Linked DNA regions of Homo sapiens: regions 1, 2 and 4 are each linked to region 3. The links are contacts of gene promoters, found by promoter capture Hi-C in blood cells and fetal thymus (Javierre and others, 2016). All regions are on one chromosome and are shown on one strand. The core of a region is centred on a gene start or on the middle of the fragment in contact, and the rest is flanking DNA. Distances in the headings are between cores, read along the strand shown. Region 1 holds the start of TMEM86B (transmembrane protein 86B). Region 2 holds the start of BRSK1 (BR serine/threonine kinase 1). Region 3 has its middle 9.6 kb from the start of LENG8-AS1. Region 4 holds the start of PRKCG (protein kinase C gamma).

The links. The method cuts DNA at HindIII sites, captures the fragments that hold promoters and counts their contacts. A CHiCAGO score of 5 or more calls a contact.
Region 1: the fragment with the promoter of TMEM86B here is called in contact with a fragment that was not itself captured in region 3 in 1 of 17 cell types (monocytes); the score reaches 5.7 in monocytes.
Region 2: a contact is called between the fragment with the promoter of BRSK1 here and a fragment that was not itself captured in region 3, in 1 of 17 cell types (fetal thymus). The highest score is 5.1, in fetal thymus.
Region 4: the fragment with the promoter of PRKCG here is called in contact with a fragment that was not itself captured in region 3 in 1 of 17 cell types (monocytes); the score reaches 5.1 in monocytes.

What each region holds. Positions count from the first base shown.
Region 1 is chr19:55,226,017-55,230,012 of GRCh38, reverse strand. TMEM86B (transmembrane protein 86B) reads left to right here and starts at 1,250. Exons shown (of 3, transcript NM_173804.5): 1 at 1,250-1,322; 2 at 1,576-1,822; 3 at 2,450-3,375. The coding sequence starts at 1,272. The coding sequence ends at 2,832. It overlaps PPP6R1 (protein phosphatase 6 regulatory subunit 1), which reads left to right. Exons shown (of 24, transcript NM_014931.4): 24 at 1-234. The HindIII fragment of the contact is 5,765 bases long and covers 1-2,932 here.
Region 2 is chr19:55,282,347-55,286,654 of GRCh38, reverse strand. BRSK1 (BR serine/threonine kinase 1) reads right to left here and starts at 2,658. Exons shown (of 19, transcript NM_032430.2): 1 at 2,077-2,658. The coding sequence starts at 2,212. The HindIII fragment of the contact is 8,428 bases long and covers 1-3,364 here.
Region 3 is chr19:54,437,531-54,441,358 of GRCh38, reverse strand. No RefSeq gene overlaps it. Among named protein-coding and RNA genes, the nearest start is that of LENG8-AS1, 9.6 kb to the left of the region's middle. The HindIII fragment of the contact is 1,153 bases long and covers 1,915-3,067 here.
Region 4 is chr19:53,879,609-53,883,831 of GRCh38, reverse strand. PRKCG (protein kinase C gamma) reads right to left here and starts at 1,635. Exons shown (of 18, transcript NM_002739.5): 1 at 1,168-1,635; 2 at 638-669. The coding sequence starts at 1,337. RefSeq lists an enhancer at 632-1,183. The HindIII fragment of the contact is 17,886 bases long and covers 1-4,223 here.

The sequences.
Region 1 (3,996 bases), core at 1-2,500, 790 kb before region 3:
GTGGGGGCCGTGCCTTTGCCCAGACCCTGCACTTTCAACCAGGCCAGTCCGGCTCTGGGGAGCAGGGGCCTCCCCGGCAACAGCCCCAGGGGCCTTGAGGGTCTGAGGTCCCAGCCCTGTTGCCAAGTGACCTTGTCCCCAGCTCCCTCCTCCCAGGCTGGTGTGAGTGTGCGTGCGTTTGTGCCGAGCTTCTATTTCATATTGCAAATATAAATAAAGGAAGGCAGTTTACGATTCTGCTGGTCAGACCTTACGTTCTGGGATGCGGGGTGGGGAGCCTGTATTATCCCTGCACCCCAGAGGCTGGGGGTGCTCCTGACCCAGTCTGCCCCCACACTGTCCTGCCAGAGGGAGCCCTGTGGCTGCAGAGGCCCCAGGCTGGGCCAGGCACTGGCTGTGAGGGCTCCTGCCAGGTCTACCCCACCTGTGGGCAGGGCCTTGGGCAGAGGATAGAAGCCACCGACAGGCTCAAATCCCTGCTCCTGCCCCTGCTTACCCCCAGTAACCAAGCCCAGCATTGAGGCTGGGTACTGGCGCCCAGTAGGTCTGAGTCTTTCAGGTAGAAGGTAGAAGTGTAGGCTGCGTGTGCAGCGAGTGGCACCGGTGAGCGGCGCTGGGAAACCGGAGCGTGTGGACCGGGCCATGAGGACAGCGTCCTCACTGGGGTGGCAGTTGGCTTGGAGGTCACCTGGGGGCTCGCTCAGCTAACAGGAGAGGGTGCTTGTTCCCCGCATTCGTGGTGGTCCCTCCTGGTCACCCATTGAAGCAGTGTTTGTGGTGGAGCCCCTGAGGGCTTGGTGGGGTTGAGCAGAATGAGGAAAGGTTTCATGGAGCAGGGAGGGAGACGGCTAGGGCAGCAAGTGAAGGACAGACTCGCCTTCCCATCCCTCCAGGGGCACTCCTGCCAGCCAGCCCCTCTCCCGCTTCCCATGATGGGGTGGCTGTTGGAATTCTGCACCCCATCTCTTCTGATTGTTGGGGCCCAGGACAAGGGGACAGGCATTTGTGGGCCTAACCTCCCCAGGCAGATAGGAGGAGGAAGCCATGTCCCAGCAGGCTAGGGCAGAGGGACCCCCAGTGCCAACAGTGCTTTATCAGCGGGCGCCAGGCAGGGCCATCCCCAGGGTGAGGACAACATCTCCCTGGGCCCTGTTATCAGTCACAGAGTCCACAGGACGCTCCTTGGGTTAACGTGTAACCATGAGCCCTCCCCTCCACCCCCTGAAGCCACTCGCTCCCAGATTAGGTCGCTCTGGGGCTATCAGGCCAGCATGGACGCTGGCAAAGCGGGGCAGACCCTGAAGACTCACTGCTCAGCCCAGGTGAGAGCCTTCTGAGCTGTGCCTGGGGCTGGGGGGACAGGGCCCTGGAACCCCAGCAGCCGGCGGGTCTGGGAGCTGCTGTCCTTGAGTTGGTTGGGCCCTGGGAAGCTGGGTTCTGGCAGCCTGGTCCCTGAATGGGTCCAGCCTGTACAGCTGGGGTCCCAGGTGGGGGTGGGACAGGAGCCATGAGATCTGAGTCCCAAGAATGGGGGCTGGGCTGGGTTTCGGCTCAGTAGCTCCCCACTCCCCAAAGCGCCCAGATGTCTGCAGGTGGCTGAGCCCCTTCATCCTCTCCTGCTGCGTGTACTTCTGCCTCTGGATTCCCGAGGACCAGCTGTCCTGGTTCGCTGCCCTGGTCAAGTGCCTGCCCGTCCTCTGCCTGGCTGGGTTCCTGTGGGTCATGTCCCCAAGCGGGGGCTACACCCAGCTCCTCCAGGGAGCCCTTGTGTGCTCGGCTGTGGGGGACGCTTGCCTCATCTGGCCGGCAGCCTTCGTCCCTGGTGAGTGGAAGGTGCTGTGACGCTTTCCAGATGCCCGTGTGAGAGAGGCCCCAGCACTTGGATGGGAGCCTGGGTGCAGAGGGCTCCTGTGAGAGCTCCAGTGGTCAAAGGCACAGTGGGGGGCGCAGCCGTGACCGAGGCAGCTCACGCTCCAGCGAGGGGTGGGGGCAGGCGGTGTTAGGGCAGTAGCTGAGGTGGCGCAGAGGGCAGTGAGGACCTGCTGGAGGTACTGCAGTTTGAAGCAGGGTTGCTGAGGAAGGCCTCACTGAGGAAGTCACATTTGGGCAGAGCTGAAGGGCTGTATGCCTGTGTGGAGGAAGGGCGAGTGTAAAGGCTCCGGGGCAGGGACGTGTCAGGTGCTTGTAGCCCAGCAGGCCAGGGTGGCTGGCGCAGAGTGGCTGGAGAGCTGGAGGCCATGGGGCTTTGGAGGCCAAGGGAAGGTGGGGCCTCCTGGCAGTTCTGAGCAGAGCAAGGATGGACACTGCATGTGGGGAGACCTGCAAGGAGGCTCGGCCAGGGTGGGGCCTGGTGCTCTGGGATGGTCCTTCTCTTAGGCCCTGAGGGGTGACCTCGGGGCCATTCCCAGGATGGGCCTTCCTCACTGGTACCCCACCCCTCTCCCGCCAGGCATGGCCGCCTTTGCCACCGCCCACCTCCTCTACGTCTGGGCCTTCGGCTTCTCTCCCCTGCAGCCCGGCCTGCTGCTGCTCATCATCCTGGCCCCTGGCCCCTACCTCAGCCTTGTGCTCCAGCACCTCGAGCCGGATATGGTCCTGCCGGTGGCAGCCTATGGGCTGATCCTGATGGCCATGCTGTGGCGCGGCCTGGCCCAGGGCGGGAGTGCCGGCTGGGGCGCGCTGCTCTTCACGCTCTCTGATGGCGTGCTGGCCTGGGACACCTTCGCCCAGCCCCTGCCCCATGCCCACCTGGTGATCATGACCACCTACTATGCTGCCCAGCTCCTCATCACACTGTCAGCCCTCAGGAGCCCGGTGCCCAAGACTGACTGACTAGGGAGCTTGAAGGGCCGGTGTTCAGGCCCTCTCCTCCTGCAAGGACCTGGGCCTCCCAGCCCAGCCCAGCCTGAGAAATACCCTCAGCAGCGAAGCTTCCTGACGCCTGTCTGCAGGCGCCGCTGCCGCCGTCGCTTCTGGCTGAAGACGTTTGAGGACGATTTGCGGAATTCCAAGTCCACTACTGGGTTCCAGCTGCCTTCCCCCGGTTCTGACTCCAGATCCCTGGCTCCTCAGCCAGGCCCACATGGAGCCCTCCCAGCCACCAGCCTGCCTCCATGTTCACTGTCGGCCCCACAGCCTGCCCGCCCCCTGCTGCTGCTCTGAATCCGTTTTCCCTGTGGGTGTGGAACCGTAGATGTTGCTGTTACCGTAGGAGAGGCCTCGGGGAGGGTCATGATTGTGATAAACCATCGCGGTTAATGACAGCAGAAGGTTCTTTGTCGCTCCCCATGGACCAGGCCTGGTGCCCAGTGGGACCCTCCATGGCCCTCTGGTGGGGGGATTCGGGGGGATAAAGTGAGGATTGTGCAGAACTGAGCCAAGAGGACTGTTTGGTCTTTGTGTTAGTTTCCTGAGGCTGCTGTCACAAATTACCCCAAGCCAGATGCTTTGAAACAAGATGAATGGACTCTCCTGCAGTTCTGGAGACCCAAAGTCCAAAATCCGGGTGTTTTCCGGCCCATGGTCCCTCTTGAGGCTCCAGGGAAGAATCCGTCCTTGCCCTCTCGGCTTCTGGAGGCTCCCGGGAATCCCTGGCTTCCATCGGCCTGTGGCTGTGTCTCTCCGTCTTCATGTGACTGTCTTCAACTGGCAGCCTCCCTCTGTGTCCGCATCCTTCTAGGGACACAGGTCATTGGATTTAGGGCCCACCCTAAACCCAGGGTGATTCTATCTCAAGATCCTTAAGTATGTCTGCAAAGCCCCTATTTCCAAGTAGTGTCACCTGCAGAGGTATCTGGGGTTAGGACTTGGACATATCTTTCTAGGGGATACAACCCGCTGCAGTCACATGCAGTATCGGGAGAAGGGTGGGAGGCTTGAGGATGAGGGGTCTTGGAGGAGGGAGGGCGGCAAGGGGGTAGGAATCAAATGGGAAGGAGGAACCCAGCTGTGCTCCTTGTCAAGGCTGTGTGACCTCGGCAAGCTGCTATCCCTCAG
Region 2 (4,308 bases), core at 1,409-3,908, 850 kb before region 3:
CACTTTCTCTGTCTCTCTCCATCAATTCCTTGTATTCTCTGCTTTTCAATCTTTTGGAGACCCTATGACTCCCAACGAATATAGTCTCACATTTGCCCCCTCCCCAGACCACCCTCCACCTCCTCCTGAATCCCCTCCCAGTGAATATAATCTCACATTTGCCCCTCCCCAGATCACCCTCCACCTTCTCCTGAACCCCCAGCCTCAACTGCCTTCCTGGGTCTTCTCTTCATGGCAGCCCTAACAGACAGCACACAGACACCAAGGGTATGTCCGGTCTCCTAGCCCACACCTCTCCTCAGGACCCTCGACTCCAGGACCTGAGCCCCCAAAGCCACAGACCTAGCCCTGACTAGCCCCTAAAGCTGCAGGCCCAGGCGTCCAGACCCCCAGCCCCTCCTCCCTCAGACCCAGGAGTCCAGGCCCCCATTCCATCCTCCCTCAGACCCAGGAGTCCAGACCCCAGCCCCTCCTCCCTCAGACCCAGGAATCCAGCCCCCCCAGCCCCTTCCTCCCTCAGACCCAGCACTCCAGGCCCCCAGCCCCTCCTCCCTCAGACCCAGCACTCCAGGCCCCCAGCCCCTCCTCCCTCAGACCCAGCACTCCAGACCCCCAGCCCCTCCTCCCTTAGACTCAGCACTCCAGACCCCCAGTTCCTCCTCCCTCAGACCCAGCACTCCAGGCCCAGCCCCTCCTCCCTCAGACCCAGTCCAGGTCTGACCCCTTCTTCTCCTGTAACTCAGGAATTCAGGTCAGCAACACCTTCACACTCTTACCACTCAGGATCTGGGACTTTGACCCTCTCCTTTTCCCTAGGGTCTCAGCTCCCAGTTACGGCCCAGTCGGTCCCCACTCCTGCCAGCTCTGGCCCTGAGCTTCATAGAGACTCTGGGCGTTCAGCTCCCATGTCACCTCCACCCACCATCCATCCGGCAGGAAGGAGGCCGCGGCCGGTGGCCAGCGTTCAGCAACAGCAGAGGATGAACGCCCTTTCCACAGCCGCTCCAGGAGACGCGCCTGCTGCAGCCCACCTTCCCACCCTCCATCCTGTTTCCCACTCTGAGCCAGCATGCCAGAGAAGGGGAGAATGTCTTAGGCCCCACGGCCCCTGTCACCCCAACCTGCTGCCTGGAGAACTGGAGGCCAGAGGACAGTGGGGAGGGAAGAGGTTTCCCAGGATGGATGCACTGCACCCCGGTCTGCAGCTGTACTGCAGCAAGAACCTCAGGTCCCAGCCCGGCCCCACTCTGCAGGCCGCCTCCATCCCCTCCCTGGCCCTGGAGCCCCTCCAGCCTCTGCCCCTATGGGGACTGGAGCACTGGGGCCCCAAACTCCCTGTCCCAACACTCAAGGTTCCGACCGCCCTCCTCCCTCAGACTCAGGAGTCCAGGCCCCCAGCCCCTCCTCCTTCAGACCCAGGAGTTCAGCACCCCTGCCCCTCCTCCCTCAGACCCAGGAGTCCAGACCCCAGACCCTCTTCCTTCATACTCAGGAGTCCAGGCCCCCAGGCCCTCCTCCCTCAGACCTGAAAGTCCAGGACCGCAGTCCCTCCTCCCTCAAACCCAAAAGTCCAGGACCCCAGTCCCCTCCTCCCTCAGACCCAGAAGTCCAGACCCCCAGCCCCTCCTCCCTCAGACCCTGGAGTCCAGGCCCCCAAGCCCTTCTCCTTCAGACCCAGGAGTGCAGGCCACCAGCCTCTCCTCCCTCAGACTCCGGAGTCCAAGCACAGCCCCTCCTCCCTGAAACCCAGGAGTCCAGACCCCCAGGCCCTCCTCCCTGAAACCCAGGAGTCCAGGCCCCCAGGCCCTCCTCCCTCAGACCTAGGAGTCCAGTGCCCAGCCCCTCCTCCCTCAGACCCAGGAGTCCAGGCCCCCAGCCCCTCTCCTCCAGGACCTGAGTCTGCGCCCCCCACCCCCTCCATCCAGGGACCCAGGAGTCTGAATCCCAAGTCCCTTCTCTATGAGGGGCCCAGGGGTCTGGGCAGCCAGCCCCTGCCATTTGAATACCCTGAGTCCCGCCTCTGCCGCCACCTCCACCCTGCCCCCCGCCCCAGGTGTCCCCTTCTGCTAGGCTCACCTGTCTGTCCTTTGCCCAGCGTCTTCTCCAGCCGATAGGGGCCCACATATTGGGCGTGCTGGGGTGGGTGGGGGTGGGGGTGGGGGAGGTGGTAGGCGGGAGAGCCCCCACCTCCCTCCTTGGCCCCGGACGACATGGTGCCCTTGGTCCCGGCCCGACCGGTCCCCCGGCCGCCCCCCCTGCGGCCGTCGCCCCGTCTCTCCGGTGGGGGCCGGCGACCGCTCCGTCCCGGCCCCCCCGGCTGCCCCCCACCTCTCCGGGGGTCCCCAGGGGGCTGGGCTGGCCCCCCCCAGTCGGCGGGCCGCGGAGCTGGGGGAGGGGGGGCTGGCCCGGGGGGGTCAGGCCCCGGGAGTCAGCATGGCCCAGGGGGGCTGCGGGGCCCCCCCTCCCCAGCCCGTTTCTGGCCGGCCCCCCGCTTCCTGCGCCTCCCCCCGCCGGGGGGGTCTGAGGTGCGGGCCGGCGGATGCTGCAGGCCGAGGTCCCCCCCGCCCCCCCACGCGCCCTCTCTCCTCCGCCTCCTCCTCCTCTCCGCCTCCCCCCGCCACCTCGTCCTTTCTCTCCGGCACGCTGACATCACCATCCGGGGACTCCGGGCCCTTCCCCAAAGTTAACCCTTTCGGAGGGGGGAGGGGGAGCGAGGGGGGGCAGGGGGCGGGCCTCCAGCTGGAGGGATGGAGAGGAGGTGGGAGGATGCAGGAGAGAGGATGGAGGGAAGGATGGAGAGAGAGAGAGAGGACCCAACAGATGGGGCAGAGATGGAGATACACAAAGAGAGATGCTGGCTGACACAGAGACGGGAGACAGGCAGAGACGCCAGAGGGATGGAGACCACCAGAGACAGGCTGAGGCAGAGAGGGAGGAAGGGCAGAGATGGACAGGGACAGAAGAGAAGGAAGGAATGGCAAGCCGGGAAAACAGACAGGGAGAGGGAGAGAAAGCTGCTGGAAGCCGACAGAGGGATGGAGAGAGTCAGAGATTCAGAGAGACAGAGAGAGGAAGACCAACCAGAGAGGTGGGGGAGAGGGGGCGCAGATGGAGCTGTAGAGAGGGCCGGGGGTACACACAGGTGGAGGGACACGTGCTGGGGAGAGGTGGGGACATATGGAGGGAGACAGAGACAGAGAGGGGAAAGAATTCTTGGAGTTGCTGACCCAAAATTCATGTCTGTTTCCCCAGCCCCCTAAGGCCACCCATTCAGGGTAAGGGTAAGTCTGTGTCCCCACCAATGTCAAGGCCCCATATCTACCCACAGCCCAGAGTGATTTTGGATTCTCTTTACAGAGAAGCTTCCAGAACCCCCTCAGTTTCCCTGTGTTATGTTTTTAGACCCCCATATATTCTCTGTGCTCGTCATAGGGTCCTTTATATCTTCATGTGGACCCCAGTACAGCCCATACATCCCCACTGTAGCAGGTCCACAAGCATGTGCTCTGCCTGTGAGTAACCCGCCTGCCCCCATTAGCTTTCCGCATAAACCATAGATCCCTCTATGTCATGTACCCGCAAGTGTTAGACACCCATTTAATTCTCAAGTCCCCTGTAAAGCACACCCAGGGCTGGGCAAGGTGGCTCATGCCTGTAATCCCAATACTTTGGGAGACAGAGGTGGGAAGATCAGCCTGGGCAACACAGTGAGACCCCATCCCTACAAAAATTTTTTTAAAAATTAGCCGGGCATGGTGGCATGTGCCTGTAGTCCCAGCTACTTGGGAGGCTGAGGCTTGAGTCAGTGAGTTCTAGGCTGCAGTGAGCTACGTTTGCACCACTGCACTCCAGCCTGAGCAACAGAGTGAGGCCCTGTCTCTAACAAAAATAAAATAAAATAAAGTGCACACAGGAGCCTATTGGCTCCTGTGAGATTTCCCAGTCCCCCATTCAACACCTTGAGTCCACACATCTTTAATGAGTGCCAAATCTCAGCCAGGCACTGTTCCTGTTGGTAAGAACGTGGCAGTGACCTAAATCAGCAAAAAGGCCTGTCCTGTGGAGCTTCCATGCTGGTGGATGAAACAGATGATCAGCAAGGTCAATAGGCAAAATGTATGGTGTGTTAGATAATCATGTCCGTGCTGAGGAGGTGACTACAGCAGGGAAGGGGGTTAAGAGGGGCCTGTTGAGCAGGGTACAATTTTAGGCGTCCGGCTTTTTTTGTATTTTTAGTAGAGATGGAGTTTCACCCTGTTAGCCAGGCTGGTTCTGTAGCCTTTTTTTTTTTTTTTTTTTTTTTTTTTT
Region 3 (3,828 bases), core at 1,242-3,741:
ATTGTAATTTCTATCTGTTGATATCCAGTTTGAGTTTTTTTATATCTTCCGTATCTGTAAAGAACTTTTGGAACGTATGGAGTACAGTATAATAGTTGTTCTAATGTTCTTACCTACTAATTCTAACTCCTGGGTCCGTTTCAGTTGAATGATTTTTATCCTCATGATGTGCCCTATTTTCCTGCTTTTTGCATATTTGGTGACTTTGTTGTTGGATACTAGACAATATCAGTATTACCTTGTCGAGCACTCGTTACTTTTGTATGCCTATAAATATTCTTGAGCTTTGTTTGAGAATGCAGTCACCTTACTTGGAAGCAGCTTGATCCTTTCAGGTTTTGCTTTTAAGATTCCTCAGGCAGGACCAGAACAGTGTTTAACAGGTTAGGGCTGCTTATTCCCCACGGCTGATGTAAGACCCTCTCCGTGTTCTACCCAGTGTTCCTTCAGTTATGAGGTTCTTCTGGCAGGAACAGCGCCTTGTCAAGGCCTGTGTGAGTCCCCAGAACTCAGGCGCTATTTGCTTCAGTCCCTCCAGGTGGTTCTTTCCCTGGCATTCTAGTCTGCAGTAACAGAGGACCATGGACTGGTGGCTCAAAAACAACAAACACTTATTTCTCACAGTTCTGGAGGCTGGAAGTCCAAGATAATTTATTTTTATTTTTATTTATTTATTTTTTGAGATGGAGTCTCGCTCTGCTGCCCAGGCTGGAGTGCAATGGCGCGATCTTGGCTCACTGCAACCTTCGCCTCCCAGGTTCAAGAGATTCCCCTGCCTCAGGCTCCCGAGTAGCTGGGACTACAGGCACCCACCACTACACCCGGCGAATTTGTATATATTTAGTAGAGACAGGGTTTCACCATGTTGGCAAAGCTGGTCTCGAACACCTGAGTTCAGGTGATCTACCCACCTCGGTCTCCCAAAGTGCTGGGATTACAGGCGTGAGCCATCGCACCCGGCCCATAACTTCATTCTCAAAACAAAGCTCAAGAACAAAGCTCAGACTCCCTGCTTTGTCTCCTCTGCTCACGGAGTCCTCCCAGCTCCGCCTCAGTCTTCCCTCCCTGTCCCGTGGTCTAGAAACTTGCAACAGGACCCAGCGGCAATTTTAGGGCTTGCCTTGATGTTTCCCGTTCCTCAGGGATCACTTTCTTGGTAGAGTCTTGACCACTGTTGTTTTCTTGTATTTACTCTATTTTTGGGGGGTCAAGTCCAGTCTCTGTGACTCCATCCTGGTCGCAGTGGAAGCCCCCATAGGTAACATTCTAAAAATAACACTGGATTTTCCTTTTGTAAAGTTTGGGTAAAATGCCTTTTTTTTTTTTTTTTTTTTTTTTGAGACGGAGTCTTGCTCTGTCGCCCAGGCTGGAGTGCAGTGGCGCGATCTCGGCTCACTGCAAGCTCCGCATCCCGGGTTCAGGTGATTCTCCTGCCTCAGCCTCCTGAGTAGCTGGGATTGCAGGCGCCCGCCACCATGCCCGGCTAATTTTTGTGTTTAGTAGAGATGGGGTTTCACCGTGTTGGCCAGGCTGGTCTCAAACTCCTGACCTCAGGTGATCGCCTGCCCCAGCCTCCCACAGTGCTGGGATTACAGGCGTGAGCCAGGGTGCCCGGCCAACTTCTTGTTGAGAGATCACCCCCAGGCTCATTGGCATGGGAGATCAAGCAGCTGAGTCTCAAGGTACTTTGCAGCCGCCCAACAGCCAGCGGATGCCTGTGCTTGGGAAATGGGCTCAGGGGCACTAGAGGGCAGTGTTTGAGAGGAAAGAAGTCAGCATAGCAGCAGGGCCGGGCCTGGGGCAGACAGCCCACATGGTTAGGAAAAAGTGAGTGAACGCATGTGGCCCCCAGAACCCCTCCCTGAAATTGCAGTTGATTTTTATTCCCACCGTCAGGCCCACATATCTAAAGCTTCCTCTGAACGCTCCTTGCAGTACACAAAATAGAAATGATTGACAGGCACAGAGCAGCAGCAGGCCCCACGCTGTACACCAGCATCTGGCACTGTGGGTCACCAAGCACCAACTCGATCCCCTCGGAGCCAGGTGTGTGTTGAGATTCAGGATTTTTCAGTTGCAAAGGCAATATGATCTCTACTCCACAGGGCACACGGCACCCTCAGTGCTCAGCACAGCAGTGTGCAGCAGCCTGGTTAACTTTTCTGCAGGGAAGTATGTGAACGTTCACACCAAGCGTGTCAGTCATGTCTGTAAGTCATCTCCCACCAACACAGGTCAGGTTTTCCTGCCCAATGAGCTTGGGGATGGCTTGACTTTGGAGCTCTTTGGATCTGTGGATTTTGGAATTTTGGATTTCTGATACCCGTTTGATCAAAGAGGCAACCGAGGTCTAACGGGTCAAGTGACTTTCCCATATCCGTGAAGGTCATGAAAAGCAGGGCCAGGATGGTGGCCTGGGGTGCCTTGAATGATAAGCTGGGCCCTTCACTGTGCAGGCCCCTCTCCTTCAGTCCACTCTGCCACTGCTGTCTGCCACACCCTGCTCTGATAGCTCCTCTCTGCCAGGCTTTTCCCTCACATCCTCAACTCAGCCAAGAGCTGGTTTCTTCCAGAGAGCCCTGCTGTGCAGTCAGTTATTGGACTTCTCTTTTTGTGCATGTTTGTTTTCAGGGTTTAGCTGATCAAAGTGGTATCGTTGTAACAGGCAGCTCTAAATAGAAGTCTTCAGAAGCCTGTGTGTCTTTTTCTGTAAATCAATTCCCAAAAGCAGGATTGTTGGGGCATGGGGTGTATGCAGTTTTGATCTGATCACATACAAGCGCATTTTTTTTTTTTTTCAAGGGATGGTGGCAGCTCACAGCCTCAGGAGAAGTGTTTTGAGTGCCTGTTCCTCTAGGTCCTCGCCCGCCCAGGACATCACCACTCTTGTTAATTTCATTGTGTCTAGGTAGTGAAAAAGTGTAGTTTCTCATTCTTTCAAATTGCATTTCCCAATTATTAGAGTTTGAATCTTTTTGTCTGTTTACTGATGTTGGAATTTTTATTGAGTATTCAACTCAATTGATTACTTTTAAATGGGTTGTCTTTTTCTTAGTTTATGAAAGCTTTTGTAGATTATATCTTTTAAGAATAACATTTCTGCATCATAACTGTTAACATACACACACACACACACACACACACACACACACACACACGCACGCACACACTCACTGTTCCCCAGTCTGTCAATTTGCCATTTGACTTTACGGTATGTTTTTCAATCTATAATTTGCCAACTAAGCTATCTTTTCCTTTCTGGTTTTATGATCTCCTGCTTAAACTCCTCCCTCCCCATTTTCCCTACCCAGATACATGACATGCAGACAATATACAAATATTCTCCTAATTTCTCTGGTTTGTTTTGTTTTGTTTTGTTTTTTTCTGAGATGGAGTCTCACTTGATCTCCCAGGCTGGAGTACAGTGGTGCAACCTCCACCTCCCGGGTTCAAGCAATTCTCCTGCCTCAGCCTCCCGAGTAGCTGGGCTTACAGACCTGTGCCACCATGCCCAGCTAATTTTTTTTTTCTTTAAGTAGAGACGGGGTTTCACCATGTTGGCCACTCTGCTCTCAAACTCCTGGCCTCAAGGGATCCACCCACCTTGGCCTCTCAAAATGCTGGGATTACAGTCATGAGCCACCGCAGCCAGCCTCTCTCTGTTTTTTGTCTTTTTTTTTTTTTTTTTTTAAGAGGCAGGGTCTTGGCCGGGCGCGGTGGCTCACGCCTGTATTCCCAGCACTTTGGGAGGCCGAGACGGGCGGATCACGAGGTCAGGAGATCGAGACCATCTTGGCTAACACGGTGAAACCCCGTTTCTACTAAAAA
Region 4 (4,223 bases), core at 386-2,885, 560 kb after region 3:
GAGATCAGAAAGCCAGGAGAGAGGCAGACAGATTCAAAGAGCGAAAACCGAAATATCTTCAGACGCAGCCCAGGAAGCAGCAACTTGGGCAGAAGTGAGTCTGGGGGCGCTGCTGCCGGCCCGCCCCCCACCCTGACTCACTCTGTTCTCAGCAGTAGCAGCTGGTGCTCAAGGACTCGCCCCCCTCTCCCGCCCCCCAGAACTGCCGGCCCCGCCCGGCCCCCACTCGCCCATTGGTGACCCCACCCGGCCTGCCCCTGCCTAGGACGGCTGGTGTTGTCATGGCGACGGCAGCCTGGGGTGGGGGGGGGCTCTGACTTTGCATCTCCAGCCCCCTCCCCCTTCCCCCCTTCAGCTCCCCTTTTCCAAATCTCCATGTTCCCATGGCAACAGATTCTCCAAATATCTGTCCCCACCTGGAGCCGGCCGAGGGAGGGGCCCCCAGCACCACCTCCGCGGTGGCCCCACCATCAAAGCTCCCTCCCCACCACAGGCTGTGTCTCTGCCACACCCCCCGCCCCGGGCTCCCCCGCGCCTCTCTGGGGACCAGAGAACACGTGTGTCAAGCAGCCTCAGCTGTGGGGCCCCAGCCTCCACCCTCCTGAGGGTCCCAGGAGCCCCGGTCCCCAGCTCTTACCTTGACATTGCAGGCCCTGCTTTCCGATACCCCTGGAAGAGTCAGGGATCCTAGGTCAGTGCAGAAAGGGGTACCTGGACCCCCAACCTCTGCGAGCCACAGGGGGCCTGCGCTCTCTGACCCTCCTCCCGCAGGGCCCAGGTGTCCAAGCCCCGGCCACCTCCTCTTTCTAGAACCCAGAAATTTTGGCCCCCAGCCCTTCTTCCCTTAGACTGGAGTTCAGCCCCCAGTTTCTTCCTCCTTCAGACCCAGGAATCCAGGCTCCCAGCCCCCCAGGCCCTTCCTCCCTCAGACCCAAGACTCCAGGACCTCTGTCCTCCAGCCTCCTCCTCCCTCGGACCCAGCACTCCAGGAACCAGCCTCCTCCTCACTGAAACCCAGGAGTCGAAGCTCCCAGCGTTCCCTGGCCATCCTAGAACCTGGGAGTCGGGACTACAGCCCCCTCCTTCTTCCTTCCACAGGGGTCGGCGTGATAGGAGTCTGCACCCCTAGTCCCCTCGTCCCCCAGTCCCCCAGCCCCCTTCCCTCACCAGATGAAGTCGGTGCAGTGGCTGCAGAAGGTGGGCTGCTTGAAGAAGCGAGCGGTGAACTTGTGGCTCTTGACTTCGTGGACCACCTTCTGCCTCAGGGCCCCCTTTCTGCAAAACAGGGGCCGGGGTCCCCCCTCTGAATCGCCTACGCCGGGGCCCAGACCAGCCATGGCCCCAGAAACGTAGCAGGGACCAGGATCCTGCCTTTCTTGGGGGAAACAGGTGGAAGGGAGAGGAGCTGGAGACTCGAAGGATCAAAGGAGCCACAGGGAAATTCCGAGGTGGGCAGGAGAGGGGCAAGGCACCTCCAGGTGCGGAGCGCGCCAGGCAGGGAGCGGCACCCCGGGCGCGCCGGCTCCGCCAGGGGGAGCGGGCGAGTGGGGAGGAAGAGCCAAAGGCAGGGGCGCCGGCAGCCGGAGGCACGGGCGGCGGCGGTGGGAGCTCCAGCTCCGGCACCTGCTGAAATGTGGGAGCCCCGGGTTGGGGGAGGCGTTGCCAGGACGACCGAGAGGGCGGGGTTTCGGCTTAAAGGCGCTCCCCTCCCGGAGACACGGGACAAATGTCCTCCCTCCCCGCCCCCCACACGTGCACACACCCACTCCGGGGGCTGGCTGGAGGGAGGGGCATCCTCTGAGCCTGGCTCCCCCCCACCACCCTGCAATCTGTCATCCTGCCCCGCGTTCCTCCCCCACTAGGGTGCCTCGTGTGTCCTGTGGGCGCCCTGGGGTCCCTGTGTCTGACCCTGCCCCTCTCCTTCCTTCAACAAACTTTATGCTCCACGCTAGGGGTCCAGCAGTGGACAGGCAGGGCGCTAAGGTTCTCACTTTCTCCGATGCCGGCTGAGTCTTTATTTCCTCCCCTGGCCTCTCCATTATTTGTGTAGCTCTCTGCCTGCGTGTGTCTTTCTTGTGACCTCTGTCCCTCTCCCTCTATTCCTGGAGCGAGCTTTCTCGATGTGTCTCTGTTTCTGCCTCTCAGTGGATCTGTTTTCTTTTCCCTGTCTCCGAGAAATGCTGTTTCTATTTCTTTCTATTTCTCTATTTCCTCTGCTGTGTGTCTCCATCTGTATCTGTCGCCATCTCTGGGTCTTGGTGTCGTGGTTCTTCTCGGGGTCTTGGTCTGCCTCACTGTGAATCAGTCTCCCTCTGTCTCTCCCTCTACGTCTGATAAATTCTTCCGCCTCTGTCTCCCTGAGTTTGTTTCTTTCCCTGTCTTTGTCTCTCTGGCTCTGTGAATCTCTATTCTCTCTCAGGCTGTGACTCTGTCTCCCCCTCCCTCTGCAACTTGATCTCTTTGGGAGTCCGTCTCTGTCTTCCTCTCTGGGAGTCACTCTCTAAATGCTTGCCCCTGTCTCTCCCTCTCTCTCCTCACCTCCACCCGTCTTTATAAATGCCTTTGTCTCTGTCTCTCTCCCTTCCTCCGGTTCTGCAACTCCGTCTCTGTTTTTGTTTGTCTCTTCCTATATCTCTCTGGTTCCATCTGTTTCTCTGTACTTGTCCCTCTCTGGCTCTGTTGATCTCTCTCTCTCTCTCTGATGCTAGGGGGGTCTCTCTCCTGTCTATGACTCAGTCTCTCTCTCCCTCTTCTCTTCTCTGTCTCTGTCCCTTTCTCTCTGACCCAATCTCTCTCCCTCTTCTCTTCTCTGTCTCTGTCTCTGTCCCTTTCTCTCTGACCCAATCTCTATTTGTCTCTCTGGCTCTATGAATCTCTTTCTGTTTCTGGGGATCTCCCCGTCCCTCTGTGTCTGTGATTCACTCTCCCTGTGTCTCTGGCTCTCTGAATCTATTCATCTCTCTGACTCTCTGAATCTGTGTCTCTGGCTCTATGAATGTCTATGTCTCTCTGACTCTGAATCTGTGTCTCCGGCTCTATGAATGTCTCTCTATGTCTCTCTGACTCCCTGAATCTGTGTCTCTGGCTCTATAAATCTATGTCTCTCTGACTCTGAATCTCTCTGTGTCTCCGGCTCTATGAATGTCTCTCTATGTCTCTCTGACTCTGAATCTCTCTGTGTCTCTGGCTCTATGAATCTCTATGTTTCTCTGACTCTGAATCTCTCTGTGTCTCTGGCTCTATGAATGTCTTTCTATGTCTCTCTGACTCTCTGAATCTCTGTGTCTCTGGCTCTATGAATCTCTATGTCTCTATGAATCTCTGTGTCTCTGGCTCTATGAATCTCTTTCTATGTCTCTCTGACTCTCCGAATCCCTCTGTGTCTCTGGCTCTATGAATCTCTCTGTTTGTCTCTTTGGCTCTGTGAATCTCTGTGATTCAGGCTCTCTGAATCTCTCTATATGTCTATGAATCTCTCTGTGTCTCTGGCTCTATGAATGTCTCTCTATGTCTCTCTGACTCTCTGAATCTCTGTGTCTCTGGCTCTATGAATCTTTCTATGTCTCTCTGACTCTCCGAATCTGTGTCTCTGGCTCTATGAATCTCTCTGTTTGTCTCGTTGGCTCTGTGAATCTCTGTGATTCAGGCTCTCTGAATCTCTCTATATGTCTCTATGAATCTCTCTGTGTCTCTGGCTCTCTGAATCTCTGTCTCTGGCTCTAGGAATCTCTGTCGAGGGTCTCTAGATAGAGACTTCCCTCTCTGTGTCTCTGTGATTCAGTCTCTCTCCCTCTTCCCTTTTCTGTGTCTCTCTCTCTGTCCCCTTCTCTGACCCACTCCATGTGTCTATCTGGCCCTGTGAGTCTCTCTCCATCTCTGAGGTCTCTCCCTCTCTCCCTGTGTCTCTGTGATTCAGTCTCTCTCCCTCCTGTCTTTTCTATGTCTCTGTCCTCTGTCCTCTTCTCTGACCCACTCTACGTGTCTCTCTGGCCCTGTGAATCTCTCTGTCTTTGAGGTCTCTCCCTCCCTCTAAGTGTCTCTGTGATTCAATCCCTGTCTCCCTCTCTCTAGATCTCGCTGGCTTCGGCATCCTCTCTGTGCGCCCCCTCTCAGGAAAGGGGTCTCTCCAAGGGCCGGCGCGGTCAGTCTCTTCCGGCCTCCACACCTCTTGGTCGCTCTACCCGCGTCCCCGCCTCTCTCTGGTCGGGCTCTGCGCCTCCCCG